Regions from separate parts of the Homo sapiens genome. Here regions 1, 2, 4, 5, 6 and 7 are each linked to region 3. Evidence: promoter capture Hi-C in 16 types of primary human blood cells and fetal thymus (Javierre and others, 2016). All regions are on one chromosome and are shown on one strand. Each heading gives the region's core, a stretch centred on a gene start or on the middle of the fragment in contact. The rest is flanking DNA. Distances are from core to core; before and after follow the strand shown. Region 1 overlaps HECTD2-AS1 (HECTD2 antisense RNA 1). Region 2 overlaps HECTD2-AS1 (HECTD2 antisense RNA 1). Region 3 holds the start of BTAF1 (B-TFIID TATA-box binding protein associated factor 1). Region 4 holds the start of IDE (insulin degrading enzyme). Region 5 overlaps PCGF5 (polycomb group ring finger 5). Region 6 has its middle 79 kb from the start of PCGF5. Region 7 overlaps HECTD2-AS1 (HECTD2 antisense RNA 1).

Region 1 (2,912 bases), core at 109-2,608, 580 kb before region 3:
GTTTTATACAGTTAAGGTTATACTTTTTATTGAAATTAAGAACTTAAGCAAAATCAGAATCAGTTATTAAAATAAGCCTTGGAACTCACATCGCTGGTAAGTGGTTGAGTTGGGCCTTTAAGCCACATCTTCTGATTCAAAATACTATTTATACCATTTTATTCTAGGGATACCATGAAGCCTATAGCACCTCCTTCTCAATTTAGTATGTTCCATTTAGCCTAGAGAAAAGACTGAAGGTTGTTGCAACTACATATACTTTATATTTCTTTCTAAGTGTCACAATTGAGTACAATTAGAGTTCAATTTCTCTTTATAATGGATGTTCCCAGAGGGTAAACAGAAAGAATGTATGCATTCTTTAAGCAAAGCTTTATTTTTCTCTATGAATCAGCATGCAAAATCCCCTAGCAACATTTGACTTTAATACTTATGGAAATCAGATTGGTCTCCCTTGTTAGAGTGGGCATCTTGATGGCCCGTGTTATTTCCTCTATGTGGGGTTCCAGCTGTGTTGTCAGCCAGCAGTACCACTTCCTGAGGGCTGAAGAACATCTTTCTGAAAGCATTGCCCTAAAGCTGCTGCTGCCACTCCTACCATGCTCCAAATCATCAGCTTTCTAATGTGCCCTGTGAACCCTAGGCAAAGGGACAAAAAACATTATTTTAGACTTCAGTTCAGTTGGGAATCAGAAGTTGTATGGAGCCATTAAGTGGAGGCATTCAACGTATTCACACAATAACTGTTTGAACACCTATTATGTGCTCACATTGTGCTAGGCACTGGGGATCTGCTAACAAGAGACACAATCCCTATCCTCATTGTAGCTCACAGATTAGGCTGGCAAATTGACATTTAAAAAATACTGTAACTACACAAGTAACTCAGCCTCTCTTTTCATCTCTTGCTAACCTTGATGCAGGACACAGCATCTCTCTCCTTTCCAGTAAATAAATAGACAATCTGTTCTGCACCAAAAGTATTAATGAACTGCATAGATGTTGACCAAGATTTTGTGTAGGAGTTTCCTACACAAAATCTTATAAAATCTCCCATACAAATCCTATGGGAAACTCCCACACAAAATCTTACAAAATCTCCTATACAAATTCTATGGAAAACTCCTACACAAAATCTTACAAAATCTCCCATACAAATCCTATAGGAAGCTCCTACACAAAATCTCCTATACAAATCCTATAGGAAACTCCCATGCAAAATCTCAGCCTGACATCCTCAGTTCTCTTTGGAAGTATCTGGTCTCCAAGCTGGATTCTTCTTTGCCCTGGACCTGTTTCCTGACCTTGTGGTCTTGTGTCTCCCTATTCTGTTTTTACCCCCTGGAAATTTTGTTTTCCTGTAGCGCCACCCTGTTCCGTTCCTGGTGAGCAGTTCATCTCTGCCTGGGAGTTCACCTCCAGCCTTGCACACTTCAGGGGCCCTCCAGCAGCTGGAACCCACCTCCTCATTAGATGGTGTGTGTGTTTTGGGGGTGCGGAGTATAAATAACATGGAAATCAGGTTGTGCTGCACTTAAATAGGGAGTAATTATAATTGTGTTTATTTGATAGAGGGAGGCACAGGTGCCAGGAGACTGAGTAAGAAGTGAGCCTGTGAGACAGCTGCTTGCCAGCCGCATCAGGCCCTGGCCCCTGAGTCAGCCTGTGTCTAATTAGGAGCAGGCTGCAATCGCCATCTGAATAATTCTCTGGGATTGAGTTTCTTCCTGAATGACTCGATTCACACTGGATGAGAAACTGTCTCTCTCCACTAGGAAGTGGAATAAAACAACTGACTCACATTTCACGCTTCCGTTTTTGCCAAGTGGAGATGATAATTTCTCAGTTACTCAGATGTGGGCTAGAGCTGAATCTGCTTTTTATAACTGACTGACTTAGCAAGGAAGTGAAAATCCAGGTACTGAGATGGAGCAGGGACCCCTTTTAGGGGTCTCTGGGTCCCCAAGCATGGAAATAAAGGAAAATCTTGAGCTCCTTCAAGGGAAATTCCAGATGCCTAGCTAGCCCTGAAAGTGAATAAGCAGCTTGATAAACAAGAAGGTAATGGTAGCCTGAAACAATAGCCAAGGAACTGAGAGTCCCGAGATGTTTGGTTCCCTATAGAAACTAAAGATAACATCTTAACATATGTACCCGAGTTATTTTTCAGAAACCTGGACCTCCAACAAATGGATACACTGGCACATAGACCTCAGATAATGTAGAACTGAGGACTGAATTCTGATAACCATTCTTTGTTCTAAATTTCTTCCTGAGTGTCCTGGAGGAAGTCACACCCATGAGCCAGAGCTAACATTCTTTCTGCTGACCTTAAATTTTTAAACAAAGCTTCTCTTCCTTAACCAATTGTAAAAGAGAAAATCTTTGAACCTGCCTATGACCTGTAAGCTCCTGCTTCAAGATCCCCCACCCTTTCAGGCCAAAACCCATGTGTAGCCTCCATGTATTGATTTATGATCTTGCCTGTAACTTCTGCTTTCCTGAAATTTACCCCTGCTTTTAAAAACCCTTACTTGCAAGCCATTGGGAAGTCAGGACATAAGCATTAGCTGCCAATTCTCCTTTCTTGGTGCCCTGCAAATAAATACCTTCCTTTCTTGCCACTTCAAACCTCAGTGTGGATGTCTGGCCTTACTGTGCCAGGCCAGTGGACCCCACTTTGGTTCTATAACAGTATCACAAAGCCAAGGGAGCCATAATGAGTCAAGTTCTGGGTCCTAGACTCCACATCAAGTCTTGGAGTGGGATTATTCCTCAACCAGGTGGTCTGGTCTCACTCTAGACAAGGCCTATGGAGGTCCTGTGGATTCAGAAGACCCCTCCTACCAAGGCCCACCCTCCCTGGATGTCTCCTGGAAGAGGTAAAAATTCTAGGTATCCTTTAAACACCT
Region 2 (2,839 bases), core at 120-2,619, 530 kb before region 3:
TCACATCATAGATGTTTGCTAAGTTTGGTTTAATTAAACTAAATGGAATGGAGTTTGTGTTCCAGTAACTGTGGCTCTGAAGCCTGCTTTTTTTAGTCTGTTTTCACTTTTTCTTCCCACAGTTGATTTATCAGCAGCACCCATCAGTTTCGAATGTGGACAGATTCATTTTGATTAAACGGCTTTCTATCACAAACATTTAGAACCAGTACCACAATTTAGCTAACAGTTACATATTTATTACTTAACCTCACTTGGCTTCAGTTTCCTCATCTGGATTTTTAGAAGGGGGAATGGACAAAATGTTTTTCAAAAAAAACACAAATTAATAACTAATGTCCCTTTTGTTATTTTTTCCTACCCATGAAGCCTATGTTTTGAATGATTTGGCCAATCTAACTGCATTTACACATTCAAAGTTTATTATTATCTCTTTAATGAATTCAAGCATAAGTAATTGTTAACAGTTGAATAATGTGTTTTTATCATACTGATGATATAATTTTGGCCCTAATTATGTATTTGTTTATTGAATGCCTACTGGGTATCAGGTTCTGTTCTTGACATTAAGGATAACTGTGAACAGAAGAGTCAACATCCCTGCCCAAGTGGTGCTTACATTCTAGTGAGGGTAAAAACAAAGAAACTTGATTATCATCTATCAAGGTTAAGTAGGTCTGTACAGCACTATTTGATTAATAATTGTGTGACTTAATTTAGGCTTTTTAGAGCTTTGAAATAGCTTGGGTTTCACACTGTCTACTGTGTCTAGGGTCCTTCTTTGTCAAGGACACCAGTGGTTAGAAGCTCTCTGAGATCCCTTCTACCGTGAATGTTTTGCTCATAATTTTCCTGACTATATTAGTTTTCTATTATGGTGTCAAAAATCACAAATTAAGTAGATTAATTAAAAAAAAACATTCATGATCTCATAGTTCTGTGGGTCAGGAGTAGGCTTCACCGGTTTCTCTACTTAGGGGCTCACAAGGCTGAGGCCCAGGTGTGGGCCATCTGGGCTTTTATCTGGAGGCTCTACAGAGAACCCACTTATAAGCTCATTCAGGTTGTTGGCAGTATCCAGTTCCTTGCAGTTGTGGGGCTGAGATCCCTGTTTCCTGACTGGCAGTCAGCCAGGGGCCTCTCTTTTAGCTCCTTAGGGCCACTTACATTCTCAGATAGCTCTCTCTGTCATCAAAGCCAGCAATGGCACAGGGAGCCTTTCTCACACTAAGAATCTCTCTGACTTCTGCTGGCAGCATCAGAAAGCATTCCTGTTTTCAGGGCCTATCTGATTAGATGAGGCCCACCTGGATATTCTCCCTATCTTAAGGTTAACTATGCCATATAATACAACACCATCACAGGACTGAATCTCATCACATGCAGAGGGTCTGGGTAGTTGGATATAACATCTTGGGGGATGATTTTAGAAATTCTGCCTACTGTACTGACCAGTGGAATTTTTCCCTCAAACAGTCATGAAGAGACTCATTGCCACAGATAAGGGTTTTAGAATCATATAACATTATTTTATTTAATGGAATGAAGGTCTTTTAAAAGGGCAGGTTGGGGCGGTGCATGGTGGCTCATGCCTGTAATCCCATCTCTTTGGGAGGCTGAGGCAGGCGGATCACTTGAGATCGGGAGTTTAAGACCAGACTGGCCAACAGGGCGAAACCCCATCTCTATTAAAAATACAAAAATTAGCCGGGCATGGTGGCAGGTGCCTGTATTTCTAGCTACTCAGGAGGCTGAGGCAGTAGAATTACTTGAACCTGGGAAGCAGAGGTTGCAGTGAGCCAAGATCACACCACTGTACTTCAGCCTGGACAGATGAGACTCTGTCTCCGAAAAAAATTAAAATAAAAAAAAAATGCAGGTTGGAATTTTACGAGACTTTTTTTTTTTTTTTTTTTGAGACGGAGTCTCACTCTTGTCACCCAGGCTGGAGTGCAATGGCACAGTCTCAGCTCACTGCAACCTCTGCCTGCCGGGTTCAAGCGATTCTCCTGCTTCAGCCTCCCTAGTAGCTGAGATTACAGGTGCCCACAACCACACCCAGCTAATTTTTGTATTTTTAGTATAAACGGGGTTTCACCATGTTGGTCAGGCCAGTCTCGAACTCCTGACCTCAGTTATCCACCCACCTCGGCCTCCCAAAGTGCTGGGATTATAGGTGTGAGCCACCGCGCCCAGCCCTTTATGAGACTATTTTAAGATTATTTTAATCCCTTTTCCTTTGTGTCTTTTCCTTATAAAACATCATCTCTTTAGGAAGGTAAAAGGTTAATCACAGATATAATGAGCAGCTTCAAGTAAATGAATATTAATTCAATTCACATTAATAATATTCATGAACTGTCATTCATAAAATCTTTTTATGCCTAATCCTTTAAGATACAGGTTAATAAACAATACATTTTGGGGGTCCATTTTTAACTGGCATTCATTAAATTTTAATATTTAACTATTACATCAACAGAATGTAGATCAATAGAATGAGCTGACATCTGAAAGGGTAAAATGATGATAATTGTGCCTATCAAATTTTATGCAGCATTTTCACTTGTGTGGAGTTGAAGAGTAAAGGAACTTAGTTTTGTTTACATTTTCTAATCTGAGTATTGACAATTTGAGATGACAGTTCAATTTTCACTAAGTAATGATTACTTAGAGCCCATTTTCTCCACTTCAACAGATAAAAAATATATAATTGGTGTCACTGTGGCTGCAATCAAATCATGTCTTATGATAGAAAAGCAGAAAATGTAGGATTTTTTTCAAAAGCATTTATCTCTGGCAGATGTACTACGGACAAATGACTCAATCCATCAACATA
Region 3 (2,813 bases), core at 62-2,561:
TTCAAGGCTTCCCTACAAATTATATGGATAATGCATGTCATGTGCCCAGCACACAGCAGGTACTTGTTAGTTTCTTTCTCTTTACATACATATATACTACTTTATGGTTTACAAAGTTCTTGTAAGCTCTTCTAGATTCATGACCTCATTTTATTCCCACAATCTTCTGCAGTACTTCTCATTAGCCTCATTTTACAGATGAAAAACAGACTCAAGGATTGAGACATAGCCTCTTCAGGTAATGAGAAGCCAATGGACATGCTTTATAAGCATAGGAGCGACATGATAAAAAGCAGTGAGGTTTTTTGAAGATTAATCTGTTGGCCTATAAAATGGGCTGAACTGAAAATTGGAGAAATATTATTTTGACTACTAGCATAAAAATCAAGTTTAAGGGCCGGGCGCAGTGGCTCACACCTGTAATCCCAGCACTTTGGGAGGCCGAGGCGGGCAGATCACTTGAGGCCAGGAGCAGGAGACAAGCCTGGCCTACATGGCGAAACCCCGTCTCTACTAAAAAATACAAAAAATTGGCCCGGCGTGGGGCTCGTGTGCCTCCCAGCTACTCGGGAGGTTGAGGCACATTTAGAATCGCTTGAACCCGGTAAGCGCAGGTTGGCAGTGAGCCGAGATCGCGCCACTGCACTCCAGCCTGGGCGACAGAGCGAAACTCGGTCAAAAAAAAAAAATCAAGTGTAAGATGATAAGGGCCTGGCAGAAGTGTTTAAAAGCCTAATGAACTTAAAAATATTGAAAAGCCAGATAAGTCCCCCAAAGGAACAAAAATTTAAAAATGGTAGTTTTCAAATCTGGCTGGCTGAGAAAATGATGGTACAAACAACATAAACAATTGAGAAATCAAACTTGGCAAAATCGTTGGTCAGAAGACCTTCTCTCCAATACCTAGGCAGAACTTCTGGCAAATAATGACAAACATCTGAGCCATTTCTTCAGTGTCATAGCGACTTTTTGCTTTCACTCCTCCCACTGGCTTCACCACCTGGACAAGAGCATGTTAAGGTCCTTCTGATCTTGCTTCCTAGATGCAGTACGGTGGGAAGCAGAATCTGGGTAGTGTGGAATTAGAAACCAAGCTTTCGAAGTTCCAGGACTTGGACTAAATCGCCTTTTTCCTTCTCTGTCAAATAAGGGGACCCTTACTTCACCTCCTTCCCTAGTTTTAAGACTAGACACCCTCTCCACATCAGCACAAAGCGCTTTTATTTAGGCGCGTGCCGCCAAACCAAAGGCGCTCGCGCCGAGCTAAGCTCCTGTCGGTGAGCTTACGTCACTTCCGGCGCGCTGACGCTCAGTTGTGCGTGCCGACGCCCGCGTCAGCAAAGAGCGGAGCTGAGGGTACCCGGTTTGAAGTCGTGCGGGTCGGAGGACTGCCGCCTCCGCTACCGTCTTGGACCCCTGCTTACCGGCCGCCGCGGGGACGAGCTCGGGTAGGCGGCAGGGCAGATGCCCGAGGGCCTGCGCTGGAACGCCCCACGCCGCACCGGCCGCTCCCCTGTGCTCCGCGGCCTGGGCCTGCGCCGCTCAGCTCTCTGGAAACTAGCGCCTCAGCTGCGCGGCGCGTAGGTCGCGGGGAGCTCCGAACCGCCGGCGCCCGGCCATGGCGGTCTCCAGGTGGGTCTTGCTCCTGACGAGCAAACTGGAAGGCGATTCAGGGAAGGCATGGTCTCCTCTTAGAGCCCCCACTCCTAGAGAAGAGCGGTTCTCATTGTCACTGGGCTCTGGAGCTTTCTTCAGTAGACTTCGGAGTTCGCCCCGTGGTCGGCGGGGGTTTGGGCTCGGGTTACTCCTGGGTAAATCGGTTCAATAATGCCTTTTTCTTGTTAATAGACCCCTTGGCACGTTAGAGCTGTTTTTTCTCTTTCCTCACCATGTTTCTGTTCTCTGGTTTCTCTTCCCTCTTTCGATTCTAGGGGAGTCTCTTATCTTTCTCAGTATTCTAAGGCTGGTCCCTAACCTCCATTTCATGGGAAAACTTGGTAGTTACTGTCGATGGAGGGGAAACCTGAATTACTATTATCTAAGAGACCGTCTAATTATGTTACCAGTTTTAATTTACGTTTTTAGGGGTATGTTCTTTCCTGAGATGTTTTTTAAAATTAAGTATAATTTCTCCTTTTGTTTGGCAGTAAACATTCCAACGTCAGCGTTGTAACCTTAAGCCAATTATCGTATTAGCATCATTTTCCGTAACTAAGGCGTGGAAGATAAATCACAGATCTTATATTCTTTTGAAATATTGCCTGTCAACAGGAAAGCCCAGGAAAACTATAGAAAAACTAACGACATTTATTTGTATAGCTATAGGAGAAACATTACTTTTTCCTCCGGTATGATAGAATGGTTGGAAAGCTTTTGTAAGCGGAATTTGGTGACCCTCTGTACATGTAATTAAGGGATAGTTCCTCTGTGATAGTGATCGGATGGATTCACCAAGTTCCTTAGAGTTGATATGGTAACTTTTAATGAGAATTGGATTCTTTTACCATATAGACTGAAGGAATAAATGATGAAAACAAATAGTTTTCATTTTTTTATAATTAACTGAACACATTCTTTGAGCGTATTAAGTGCACAAGTTTTATCTGTTTTGCAAGGGAAAGGATAACCCATTCCTTACAGACTCCCTAGATGACTGATGAAATAGTGTGTGGGAGAAGCCCATGGGAGTTGGGTGAAGGGGGTTGCTAGGTACCGTAGTATGGGGCATCTGATTTTTATTTTATAATCTATTCAATGTGAGGAAATTTTTTTTTAAATAAAACTGCCTTGAGAGAATACAAGTGACATTTTAC
Region 4 (2,866 bases), core at 345-2,844, 650 kb after region 3:
TCTGCCTTAGGACTCTCTCCACTTCCTGACATCCTGCACACAGCCACCAAACTACTTTCCTAAACCCCCAGTTCCATCAGATAACTTTCCAGCTCAAAAACTTTAATGGCTCCCTACCTACTACGCATTGGGAAAATCCCAACTAAAATTCAAGACCCAGGCCAGCATTACCCTACTGTTATAATACAGGACTTGTGTCCTTCTAATTACCCCAAGGAAATTCTATAAAGCTTCAACCAGACTAATCGGCTCACTGCTCCCCCAACACAAACTGCCCGCATATCTAGGCTGGATTACGCCCACGCCAGCCCTCACTCCAACCTTTCTGCCATTCCTTCCAAAGCCAGCCTACCCCCCCATCTCTGGCCCCACACACTACCCATACTACCCATCTTCTGACCCTCATCAACACACCCTTGTAGCTATCTCAATTCCCGTGGCATCCCAATCCGCTCCAATCAAGTCAAAGTTCCTTGGAAGGCAGACACATACTTTACATAGAGGGTCCAGCACAGTGCCCTGCACTTAGTAGGTGCTGGCTATTACTGATTAAAACCAGCAGGGGTTCAAATAACGTTTCTAGGGAGGGCAAGATAATACTGCCTATCTTCTTCCATTCGTAGTAAAAAGTATTCAGCGTTCACTACAAGCCTGAAAACGCCTAGCGTACGCAGATCAACGGTGCAGTGGAGAGGGCACGCCGCCGGATGGCAAAAAACCTGTGTCCTAATCCTGGTTTTGCCACAATCTCGGCAGTTGCTGGGAAATCAAGCCATCTCTCGGAGCTCCGGTTGTCTCCGACGTAAAACAAGGGAGCTGCTGTAGAGGATCCCGAGGTATCTTTTGGCTCCTAAATGTCCCCCGATAGGAAACCCCACACTCGTCTTCCAAGGCGGGAGGCAGGCAAACTTTTTTCCCAGCGCGGGCATTCCACACGGTCCTGGAAACTCAGTGCCCGGAGAAAAGGGCAGGGCTGAGGGCAAGGTGAGAAGCGGTCCCCCCGAAGTCGCCGGATTCCTTTACCCCACGGCTCGAGTCCGCCTCAGGTTCCCGGCCCCCTCACAGGCGGACTCCGGGAGAGTGACGCGGCGCGGCTCCCAGGTGCAGGCCGGGTGACTCTGTCCGCCCCTGCGCCCCCCGCACTAGTGGCACACGCCCCGTGGCCCCGGGTAGCGGCCCCGGCCCCTCACCAGCCCAAGGGACGTCCCCGACTCTGGACCAGGCCTCTGGCTCCCGCCTGGCGAGCCGCTCTTCCGGGCCCTGGGGCGGCCTCAGCGCGGCAGTACGGGCCCCAGGCCGGCGGGACGGGCGGCGTGAGGGGCAGCGGTGGCGGCTTTAAGTGCTGAATCACCACTTTGCAACCCGAGCGCCAAACCGCTGTGACCCACGGGGCCCGAGGGCCCGGGCGCTCCATTCCGCTTACCCACACAGGCGCTCCGGAGGCGGCAGGCGGGCGCCGAGGACTGAGCGGAAGGTGCTGGGCAGTGCGGGGTGCAGAAGCCACGCTAGCCGGTACCGCATTAGCCAGCGCAGTCGCCGGGATCACCGCAAACGCTTCCTGCTTGCGCTTCGAGCCGGCCCTGCGCACTGCGCATGCTCTAGCCGCGGCGCCGCGCGGTCTCCCGGGAGCTGCGGAGAGGTAGCTGCTCCGGGTTTTGCCTGGAGCCGGATGGGGCCAGGACGCAGGCGAGGACGGTGAAGACCGCGGACAGCCGAGGCCTGAGCAGGCGGACTGGAGGGACAGGGGTTTGGCCGGGGCGCTTTAGGAGCCAGCACCCAGACTTTCCCAGGCGGGGAGGGTCCCAGCTAGATCCCACCGGCCGCACTTGTGAGGGTGGCGACGTGTGTCTGACTGTGAGGGGGCGAGGGGCCGCTCATAAATCCAGTGAGGGCACACGGGGCTATGTTTTCTGAGGCACCCCCACTGACTAGCGTGCCGGACCCTGCAGGTGTTGGAACAAGGTTCGTGGTCGCGGCGGCCTCACGTAAAATGAATCCGCGGCCGGCGCGCGGCCCGCGGGCTCCCTCTAGAGCGCGGTGGGGACGTGGACCGCGAAGGCACAGATGCGCTGGAGACAAGGCTCGAGTGCGGCGTGGGGGAAATTCAGACGCAGGGGTCAGCGATAGAGAGGCCAGGACCCAGGGGGACGTTTCCATCCTTGGGGAAGTTAGCAGCTCTCTTAAGAGGAAGGTGCGGATGGGACGGGCGCCGCAGCAAAACAAGGCTTCAAATCCAGAGTAGAAACTACTACTCTTGTTAGTACTCCGTACTAGGAATACTACTAATGTCAGTCGGCTTCAGTGGTTACTTTTTAAACAAAGAATTTTCTCCCCAGTGGCTTTATGGGGCTTTGCACCCACGAACAACTTAATAGTTGTTATGAATCTAACTTTCCATAATACCTTATGGGAGTCTTTAAGGAAGAATGCTATTAGGGATGGTGACTTGCCAGCTTAAGTACTTTTAGGTTTCTGATTGACAGACGATCAAGACTGCAGCCAAAAACGGTGTCCTTAGTCCAAGTATTGCTTTAAATGGGAATTCAGTAGGAGGGTTCCTTAATCAAGTTGATGCTTTATCGAAGACGTACCCACGATCTTTTTAACAGTGCGGTTTCACCTAAAGGCAAACCTTTGGATGAAAACAGGTAAAAATTATGGCAAGCCTCCTAGTGGTGTTTGCAAGTGCATGGTTTTAAGAACCTTTAAATTACCAGTCCCAATGCAGAGTAGTCAATCACCTTGAAGCAGCTCCTCTGAGAGTGTTAATGCAGCCTTTCTGAATACATTTATGCTCCATTAATGGAATCTATAAATGGGCTGGGGTAGATTCAGACTTGGAGGGCTTGAAACATATACAATTTGG
Region 5 (3,026 bases), core at 95-2,594, 640 kb before region 3:
CTTCATAATTATCTGTTCCTTCTATCTTTTTTTGAGTCAAAAAGTCTATTAAATTTTTCTGTTGTTGTTCCAACTTTGGTGAAAAAGGTTATGGCAATACTTTAACTTTGTTTTGTTACATTGTTTTTGTTCTTGGAATGGCTCACAAGCAGAATTTAAAAGGCAGATTTTCATTAACTATAAATGGCTGAAAAAACTGAATTTACTATCTAGCTACAGAAATTATTTTTCTATGGTGTGAAACTGTTCCCAGACATCCCTAAGAACTTTTACAAATTATTATAAATTTGTCACACCTAGGTCAGCGATTAAAATAGTGTTTTGCAAATGGAATTTTAATTAACTCAAAATGAATTAAGAGTGCATTTTAAAAATCACAAGTGAGACTTTGATGTTTTGGCCCCCCAGCCAAAACTTAATGGTCATAAATGAATTTTATCTACAAAATCTCTTTAAATTTGGCTGGTTGCCTTGTCATATGTAATTTCACTATTTTCCAAGGAAATATATAGGAAGCAATTATGAAACTGAGAATAGTTTTATATAGAATTCTTTTATTTACTGATAATGCATTAACATTTTTATTGAAATGCAATGGAATATGTGCCAAAACACGTGAAAAGCTTACATAAAGAAAGGCATCAGTTGTCGTTTGGAGAAAGGTACACATTTTTTTGATGGTCCTAAGTGATATGGTATTACTACTAGAATCACAGATTTCTTCAACTGACTTATTTTGGTATATTCAACTACAGCTTTCTAAGGATAGGACTACTTTCATGTCTAGTAATACACTGTATTCCCCGTTAATTATCCCTTAAGTCAGATTGTAGAATTTGCAAGAAACTAGGTATAGAAAAAATGTACAGGCAACTTTTGTGGTTAGCTTTATAAATTTAGGGTGCTTATAAAATGATAAAATGAATTCTTTAAATAACCTATAGGAATCATCTGAATCTGTAACATCAGAGACTAAAACTAAAAGTTTTCTTTAATCTGTTGTTTCTTAAGCAATAAACTGAAAGACCTTTACTTCCATAAAAGATTTTGTTATCTCTTTTATCTGCCTTAGAAATTATAAGTATAAAAGGGTCAAGGGAACTTAGATATAAAGAATGACTGTGGTTTATAAACATTACTTTAATTGAAGTAATCACATCAGTTAATAGAGAAATCAAAATATGTATGGCCTTTTCTCTAGATTAGCAAAACAGCTTTACAAAGTATGAAAAAATAAACTAAAATGCTCATTGATGAGGTAATACTCAGTCTGGAGTACAGGTAACTTGGGTAATGCCTTTTAACTACTCTTAGAGGAGTATATTATTTCTTTATACATTAAACATCTATCCCATAGTAATGTGCCACATTTTATAAACGTAATGACTTTGCTCAACTACATTACACACTCAAATGTAATCTAAATTTAAACTGATTATTTAAGGAAAAAAAGTGTGTTATATAATATTGTGAACTGTTTAGCTTTACTGAAATATTTAAGAGAAAGTGCCTCATTACTAAAGTGCATTTCTGTTTTAAATTTACTGCATAAAGTTTGAGTTATCTGTACCTGTCTCTTATGAATGGTTTCATATCTAAATAGGCTCTTGTAAGTTAATTTTTTTGGAAGATTTTCATAAGAATATAGATATCACCAAAGACATTTTACAGTAAATTAATAACCATGTTGGAGAGACGGTTTTAACAGTTTGGAGGTTGGAAATTTTTAGATTGCAATTTAATTTTATATAGTTAGGCAATAACCTTGATTAATTGCTAAAATATCACCAAAGAAAGGCTTTAAACTGAATTTTCTTGGTGAGATCAGTCAAATGCAGGCTTTTCTTGCAATAATCAGAACACACTTCCTTTCAAATATGTTCATTGTTTTTCAGCATCATCTAACAGATCTTAGTAAATCTAAATCCTCAAAGATGAGAAAGAGGTAAACACAACAAATAGCCTTCCTCTGCATGAAAAGTGAGAGAAATACATACTTTGAAAAGAAAGTTCAGATTTTTAATTTGAGAGGGTTTTTATTTCATGGAGGCAGTGTTAACTAAAATTAAGCTTAGATTTAGCTCCTGTATTATTCATAATATGAGAAATTTTATTAAAGGCAGACTTTGGTAAAAGTGCCAACACACTTACTTGTATAGAAAAGACTTCATTCTATGGGATTTATATAAGTAAGTGCTTTCTCTATATTCAAAATATTTCATAAGGACCTGTGGTTTTTTTCCCCTTAAAAAGCAACTCTAGGCCGGGCACAGTGGCTCATGCCTGTAATCCCAGCACTTTGGGAGGCCAAGGCAGGTGGATCACTTGAGGTCAGGAGTTCGAGACCAGCTGGTTAACATGGTGAAACCCCATCTCTACTAAAAATACAAAAATTAGCCAGGTGTGGTGGCACGCGCCTGTAATCCCAGCTACATGGGAGGTTGAGGCAGGAGAATCTCTTGAACCCAGGAGGTGGAGGTTGCAGTGAGCCGCAATTACACCACTGCACTCCAGCCTGGGTGACACAGCGAGTCTCCATCTCCAAAAAAAATTCAACTCTTGGTCTTGTTTCTCAGCACTTAGTTTATTGTTATTAGAATTTAGCCATACAGCCAACTTTGACAAAATGGGTCACAGAACAAGCATGTACATCAAGAGGAAGTTCCATATCCCCCTTGTACCATTTCTCCTTGGGAACTCATGCTATGGGCTACCTTAAAGGTAAAACTCATCTTATGGAGTCTTTCTGATAGGTCACTAGGTAAAACTCCTTGGATAGGGTGAAAATGGATGCACACTCTATTACATACTCTGGTTTATCATAAGGAATTTTCCAGAAAGCTAAGCTTTATACTAATAAGATATTGGTTGGTAGTAGGAACTTCAAAAATGAATGAGTTTGCCATAACTTTAATTTTCTGGATTAGAAACACAAAACTTGAAATGCAATTATCAATATTTTGTAATATATATTCCTACAGTTTGGGTAGAAATAAGGAACATGTCTGCTAGATCTGGTTTATGAA
Region 6 (3,025 bases), core at 331-2,830, 620 kb before region 3:
CCCACTGCCACAGTTTTAATGGGAGTGTCCCGGTTTTAGCACTTAATAATCTCATGACCCGGGAGCTCCACTAGTCTTCTGCAAACTGCGATGGTGGTTTCCTCTACCTGGGAGCCTGGCAGCCCCACCAGGCCCTACAGGATTACATCTGTTGACTGCACTCAGTTTTACTTCATTGCAGGTGGTGTTTCTTTCCCTTGGTAGAGTTCTTTCACTAACACCCCTGTGAGTCTTGTCAGATGTGATTAAACTCTGGGCAACACAAATGGAATGAAAAGAGGGAGGTGGAATTGTTTTTTTTTTTTTTTTTTAACGTGAGATAACTGACAGGTAAGACTTGAGATGAACCGGGGGGTTAAAGAAGGGTATGCGTGCCTCTGGGTGCTTTGCTATCTATGTGCTCACACATAAGAAGGAGTATGTGTAATGTACTGAGGAAGAGACCTTGGGAAGCCCGACCTGGGCAGGAGCCCCTGGAAAGTGGGGGAGGGGAAGGCAGCCGTGGCTGCAAAATTGAGGCACACAGTTTCCCATCACGGCCTCCAGAGGGCGCCATCAGCCCGCAGTGGTTCTTTGCCTTTTGAGGGCGGGCAGAAGGAAGAGGATCCACCTGGAGGATGGGTAACGAGAGCTGCAACCCACTTCCTTCAGGGCTGGGGCATGCAAGAACGAGGAGTGGACCGCTCGCAGTGCTTGAATGTCCTCCTTGTTAACCCCAGCTGGGATAAGCACCTCCGCCTCATAAGATCAAAGCTCTTTCATTCCTGCTTTAACTTTGCCAGTTCCCTTTACTTCGGAAAGAATGAGAAACCTCATCCTAGCAATCCCAGGGATCTGTGCCCTCCAGAGGAAGATCTCTGCAAAGCTGTTTACAGCGGGTTGTTTGGAGGCCAGCTTCTCTGGCACGGCGCGGTGTCCCCGTGGAGCGTTTCCAGGGCGCGGAGGCCCTGGGTCACCAACTCGAATGAATAGTGAGTGAGCTGATTGCCGCTCCACGCTGATGGATGTATATTTGTTACATTTGAAGTGTTCTGAGAAAAGAACTGCTTCTGAAAAGAAGAGCTTTGTGTGAGCACAGTGAACATGAAGGGCGAGATTCCAAAACCTTTAGGAGGGTTTTCTTTCTATGCAAGAATGAGCCACAGAAAGCTGTTCCCAGCATCCTCTGCTAATCTAGGAACACCTATGGAAAAGCGTTGTCCCGGTCTCAATCCCAGGGATGGGAATCAGGAAGCACAGAAGCTGCCATCAGAGCCCAGGGCTGGCTCTGTCATTGCCCCTTGGGTGACCTGCCGGCAAACCGCTAGAGAGCCGAGCCTCAGTTTTCTCATCTGTAAAATGAGAGCCCGGTTGTAGGGTACCCAAGTTCCCTCCCAGGTCTGGCACTTCCTGAGGGTCCTATTGTTCACCATAGAGCTAATAATGCTAGTTCTCAATTGTTTTGTTCTTGGGACCCCTTCACAAATCTTAAAAGTACTGAGCCTCCCCCCACCCCATGGATCTGTGGGGGCTTCTTTTGCTATTTGGCAGTCAGTACTAATCAAACTAACTGACATAGAAGAATTTTAGCTTATACTTCATGTGTCTAAGGCTCTCTCCAAGGGCCTTCTCTCTGCCCTATCATGTTTACATTTGTCTTGGTTGATGTAAGGCACTGATTATGGCCTCTGGATGCACATTGGAATCACCTGTAGAGCTGAGACATAACCTCAGACCAATTCCCAGAGATTCTCATCTAGTTGGTCTCTGCTAGGGTAGTGGGGAGGGGGCTACCAGGTGATTTTTAATGTGTAGCCAGGCTTGAGAAGGGCCACTCTGATAGCTCTGTGGTTCTCAAAGTCAGCCGGCAGCATCAGTATTACCTGGGAACTTGTTAGAAATGCAAATTCTCAGGCCTGCCAAGGACCTACTAGGGCAGAGCCCAGGAATCTGTTTTAACAAGCCTTCCAGGTGATTTGAATACATGCTACAGTTTGAGACCCAGTGTTCTCAATTGCCACACCTCCACAGCTTCCACTCCCACCTTCACCATCACCTCCATCAACTAAGTAAGCCCATGAAAATGTTTCAGGTTCCCATCTTCCAAGGTGCAGCTGTCTGTGTTTGCAGTGGTGACAGGGGCTTGGGTGACTGTGGCATCATTTGCATGTGAGAAGCTGCTGGGCTCTTCAGCAAGAATGAACCAAAGGTCACTAAATGCCACACACATATTCCATTCAGCAAATATTTATTGCATAAATATTTATTGAGGTACCAGCCTACTGCTGAGGGCATCACCTTACAGAATGCTTGCTGCATAGGAGATGCTTCAGAAATGCTGGCTGATGAAACCTCAAGGCCTTTTTGCAGCCATTCATGCTGCCTAAGAATTATGCATCCTGTTTACTCTGTCCTTACCTTCGACACATGGAAGCTCTAATCCTTGGGAATCCTGAAAAGCAAGGGTCCCTCTGGCACAGCAACCAAAAAGAAAATCACAACCACACCTAGCCTGTGCTAGCCTTGCCAATGATATTGCTTTTGCAAAGAATGGAAAATATTTGCAAATGGTTGAATGTTGAATCATGGGTTCTATGACATTAATGTTTATAAAATTCCATTTTACTATGGAAACAATAGGCTAATTGTTAGAGTGGATGGAGATCTATAGGATTGTCTCCTCCACACTCACATACTTGTTTTTCTAGAAACTGCCACCTTTCCCATCCGTATTTCTCACAGGAGCTCTCTCTCTCTTTCTCTCTCTCTCTCTGTATATAGTACATGACCCATCAACCTAACTGGCACTCAATCCAAAGTGGGCTACTGACTCTTGACTCCTTTGGTTAGAATTTTTTGGACTTGACACTGAGCAATCTCCCTATGGTGACTGAAGCTGGAAGGTTCAGTATTAGGGTTCTCCATAGATATGGGACCAATAGTGTGTGTGTGTGTGTGTGTGTGTGTGTGTGTGTGTGTGTCTACAGAGAGAGAGAGAGGGAAGATAGAAGATAGATAGATAGATAGATAGATAGATAGATAGATA
Region 7 (2,949 bases), core at 157-2,656, 550 kb before region 3:
TGTATGTGTCCAGGAATTTATCCATTTCTTCTAGATTTTCTAGTTTATTTGCGTAGAGGTTTTTATAGTATTCTCTGATGGTAGTTTGTATTTCTGTGGGATCAGTGGTGATATCCCCTTTATCATTTTTTATTGCATCTATTTGATTCTTCTCTCTTTTCTTCATTAGTCTTGCTAGCGGTCTATCAATTTTGTTGATCTTTTCAAAAAACCAGCTCCTGGATTCGTTGATTTTTTGAAAGGCCTTTGACAAAATTCAACAGCCCTTCATGCTAAAAACTCTAAATAAATTAGGTATTGATGGGATGTATCTCAAAATAATAGAGCTATTTATGATAAACCCACAGCCAATATCATACCGAATGGGAAAAACTGGAAGTATTCCCTTTGACAACTGGCACAAGACAGGGATGCCCTCTCTCACCACTCCTATTCAACATAGTGTTGGAAGTTCTGGCCAGGGCAATCAGGCAGGAGAAGGAAATAAAGGGTATTCGATTAGGAAAAGAGGAAGGCAAATTGTCCCTGTTTGCAGATGACATGATTTTATATCTAGAAAACCCCATCATTTCAGCCCCAAATCCTCTTAAGCTGCTAAGCAACTTCAGCAAAGTCTCAGGATACAAAATCAATGTGCAAAAATCACAAGCATTCTTATACACCAATAACAGAAAAACAGAGAGCCAAATCATGAGTGAACTCCCATTCACAATTGCTTCAAAGAGAATAAAATGCCTAGGAATCCAACTTACAAGGGATGTGAAGGACCTCTTCAAAGAGAACTACAAACTATTGCTCAATGAAATAAAAGAGGATACAAAGAAATGGAAGAACATTCTATGCTCATGGGTAGGAAGAATCAATATCATGAAAATGGCCATACTGCCCAAGGTAATTTATAGATTCAATGCCATCCCCATCAAGCTACCAATGACTTTCTTCACAGAATTGGAAAAAACTACTTTAAAGTTCATATGGAACCAAAAAACAGCCCGCATCGCTAAGTCAATCCTAAGCCAAAAGAACAAAGCTGGAGGCATCACGCTACCTGACTTCAAACTATACTACAAGGCTACAGTAACAAAAACAGCATGGTACTGGTACCAAAACAGAGATATAGATCAATGGAACAGAACAGAGCCCTCGGAAATAATGCCACATATCTACAACTATCTGATCTTTGACAAACCTGAGAAAAACAAGCAATGGGGAAAGGATTCCCTATTTAATAAATGGTGCTGGGAAAACTGGCTAGCCATATGTAGAAAGTTGAAACTGGATCCCTTCCTTACACCTTATACAAAAATCAATTCAAGATGGATTAAAGACTTAAACGTTAGACCTAAAACCATAAAAACCCTAGAAGAAAACCTAGGCAGTACCATTCAGGACATAGGCATGGGCAAGGACTTCATGTCTAAAACACCAAAAGCAATGGCAACAAAAGCCAAAATTGACAAATGGGATCTAATTAAACTAAAGAGCGTCTGCACAGCAAAAGAAACTACCATCAGAGTGAACAGGCAACCTACAAAATGGGAGAAAATTTTCACAACCTACTCATCTGACAAAGGGCTAATATCCAGAATCTACAATGAACTCAAACAAATTTACAAGAAAAAAACAAACAACCCCATCAAAAAGTGGGCAAAGGACATGAACAGACACTTCTCAAAAGAAGACATTTATGCAGCCAAAAAACACATGTAAAAATGCTCACCATCACTGGCTATCGGAGAAATGCAAATCAAAACCACAATGAGATATCATCTCACACCAGTTAGAATGGCGATCATTAAAAAGTCAGGAAACAACAGGTGCTGGAGAGGATGTGGAGAAAAAGGAACAGTTTTACACTGTTGGTGAGACTGTAAACTAGTTCAACCATTGTGGAAGTCAGTGTGGCAATTCCTCAAGGATCTAGAACTAGAAATACCATTTGACCCAGCCATCCCATTACTGGGTATATACCCAAAGGATTATAAATCATGCTGCTATAAAGACATGTGCACACGTATGTTTATTGTGGCACTATTCACAATAGCAAAGACTTGGAACCAACCCAAATGTCCAACAATGATAGATTGGATTAAGAAAATGTGGCACATATACACCATGGAATACTATGCAGCCATAAAAAATGATGAGTTCATGTCCTTTGTAGGGACATGAATGGAGCTGGAAACCATCATTCTCAGCAAACTATCGTTAGGACAAAAAAACCAAACACCGCATGTTCTCACTCATAGGTGGGAATTGAACAATGAGAACACTTGGACACAGGAAGGGGAACATCACACACCGGGGCCTGTTGTGGGGTGGGTGGAGGGGGAGGGATAGCATCAGGAGATATACCTAATGTAAATGAGTTAATGGGTGCAGCACACCAACATGGCACATGTATACATATGTAACAAACCTGCATGTTGTGCACATGTACCCTAAAACTTAAAGTATAATAAAAAAAAGAAATTCATGTGTGTCAGTATCCTCACAGACTACTACATAGGGTGAATGATTGCCAACTGCAATCCAATTAAACTACAGTGTGATTTTAGGCAAGTAACTTCATCTCAGTGGGCTTCAGTTTCCAAATCCATAAAGTGAGCACTAGTTCATTTCTAAGGTGGTTAAAAATCCTCAATAGTTCAAAGGCTTATCTTTGTTGTGGACAATCAGAAATAATTATCCAGGATAAGACACATGTCTTTTTGCTTTACTTTGTCACCAAAATCTAATATTGTATAGCCAGCTTAAGGTTCTTGAATGACCTCAGATTTTGAGAGCTCACATTCAGCACAACAGTTTAATCTCATTTCAAGTTCCCCAATATATAGACGATTTCAAGTAATTGTGTATACTGTTAACCCCAGTGATTTTTTTCTAAGAGCCAAATTAAATAATAAAATAATATTATGTCACTATTCAAGACACTCCTATTGTCTTTAT

The links. The method cuts DNA at HindIII sites, captures the fragments that hold promoters and counts their contacts. A CHiCAGO score of 5 or more calls a contact.
Region 1: a contact is called between a fragment that was not itself captured here and the fragment with the promoter of BTAF1 in region 3, in 1 of 17 cell types (endothelial precursors). The highest score is 5.5, in endothelial precursors.
Region 2: a contact is called between a fragment that was not itself captured here and the fragment with the promoter of BTAF1 in region 3, in 10 of 17 cell types (total CD4 T cells, total B cells, naive CD4 T cells and 7 more). The highest score is 13.8, in total CD4 T cells.
Region 4: a contact is called between the fragment with the promoter of IDE here and the fragment with the promoter of BTAF1 in region 3, in 3 of 17 cell types (erythroblasts, fetal thymus and naive CD8 T cells). The highest score is 8.1, in erythroblasts.
Region 5: a fragment that was not itself captured here is called in contact with the fragment with the promoter of BTAF1 in region 3 in 3 of 17 cell types (total CD4 T cells, fetal thymus and activated CD4 T cells); the score reaches 7.3 in total CD4 T cells.
Region 6: a contact is called between a fragment that was not itself captured here and the fragment with the promoter of BTAF1 in region 3, in 8 of 17 cell types (fetal thymus, total CD8 T cells, non-activated CD4 T cells and 5 more). The highest score is 12.6, in fetal thymus.
Region 7: a fragment that was not itself captured here is called in contact with the fragment with the promoter of BTAF1 in region 3 in 2 of 17 cell types (total CD4 T cells and naive CD8 T cells); the score reaches 5.2 in total CD4 T cells.

The regions. Positions count from the first base shown.
Region 1 is chr10:91,339,425-91,342,336 of GRCh38, forward strand. All of the region lies in intron 4 of HECTD2-AS1 (HECTD2 antisense RNA 1), which reads right to left. Among named protein-coding and RNA genes, the nearest start is that of HECTD2, 69 kb to the right of the region's middle. The HindIII fragment of the contact is 1,978 bases long and covers 370-2,347 here.
Region 2 is chr10:91,391,004-91,393,842 of GRCh38, forward strand. The region is part of intron 3 of HECTD2-AS1 (HECTD2 antisense RNA 1); the gene reads right to left. Among named protein-coding and RNA genes, the nearest start is that of HECTD2, 18 kb to the right of the region's middle. The HindIII fragment of the contact is 9,163 bases long and covers 1-2,839 here.
Region 3 is chr10:91,922,459-91,925,271 of GRCh38, forward strand. BTAF1 (B-TFIID TATA-box binding protein associated factor 1) reads left to right here and starts at 1,312. Exons shown (of 38, transcript NM_003972.3): 1 at 1,312-1,632. The coding sequence starts at 1,619. RefSeq lists enhancers at 54-587, 935-1,044, 1,655-1,854 and a silencer at 1,295-1,594. The HindIII fragment of the contact is 1,276 bases long and covers 1,093-2,368 here.
Region 4 is chr10:92,572,499-92,575,364 of GRCh38, forward strand. IDE (insulin degrading enzyme) reads right to left here and starts at 1,595. Exons shown (of 25, transcript NM_004969.4): 1 at 1,424-1,595. The coding sequence starts at 1,521. RefSeq lists a silencer at 995-1,444 and enhancers at 1,945-2,004, 2,015-2,254. The HindIII fragment of the contact is 22,211 bases long and covers 229-2,866 here.
Region 5 is chr10:91,279,942-91,282,967 of GRCh38, forward strand. PCGF5 (polycomb group ring finger 5) reads left to right here. Exons shown (of 10, transcript NM_032373.5): 10 at 1-3,026. Among named protein-coding and RNA genes, the nearest start is that of PCGF5, 61 kb to the left of the region's middle. The HindIII fragment of the contact is 1,447 bases long and covers 622-2,068 here.
Region 6 is chr10:91,297,884-91,300,908 of GRCh38, forward strand. No RefSeq gene overlaps it. Among named protein-coding and RNA genes, the nearest start is that of PCGF5, 79 kb to the left of the region's middle. The HindIII fragment of the contact is 3,876 bases long and covers 1-3,025 here.
Region 7 is chr10:91,370,766-91,373,714 of GRCh38, forward strand. All of the region lies in intron 3 of HECTD2-AS1 (HECTD2 antisense RNA 1), which reads right to left. Among named protein-coding and RNA genes, the nearest start is that of HECTD2, 38 kb to the right of the region's middle. The HindIII fragment of the contact is 3,540 bases long and covers 1-2,949 here.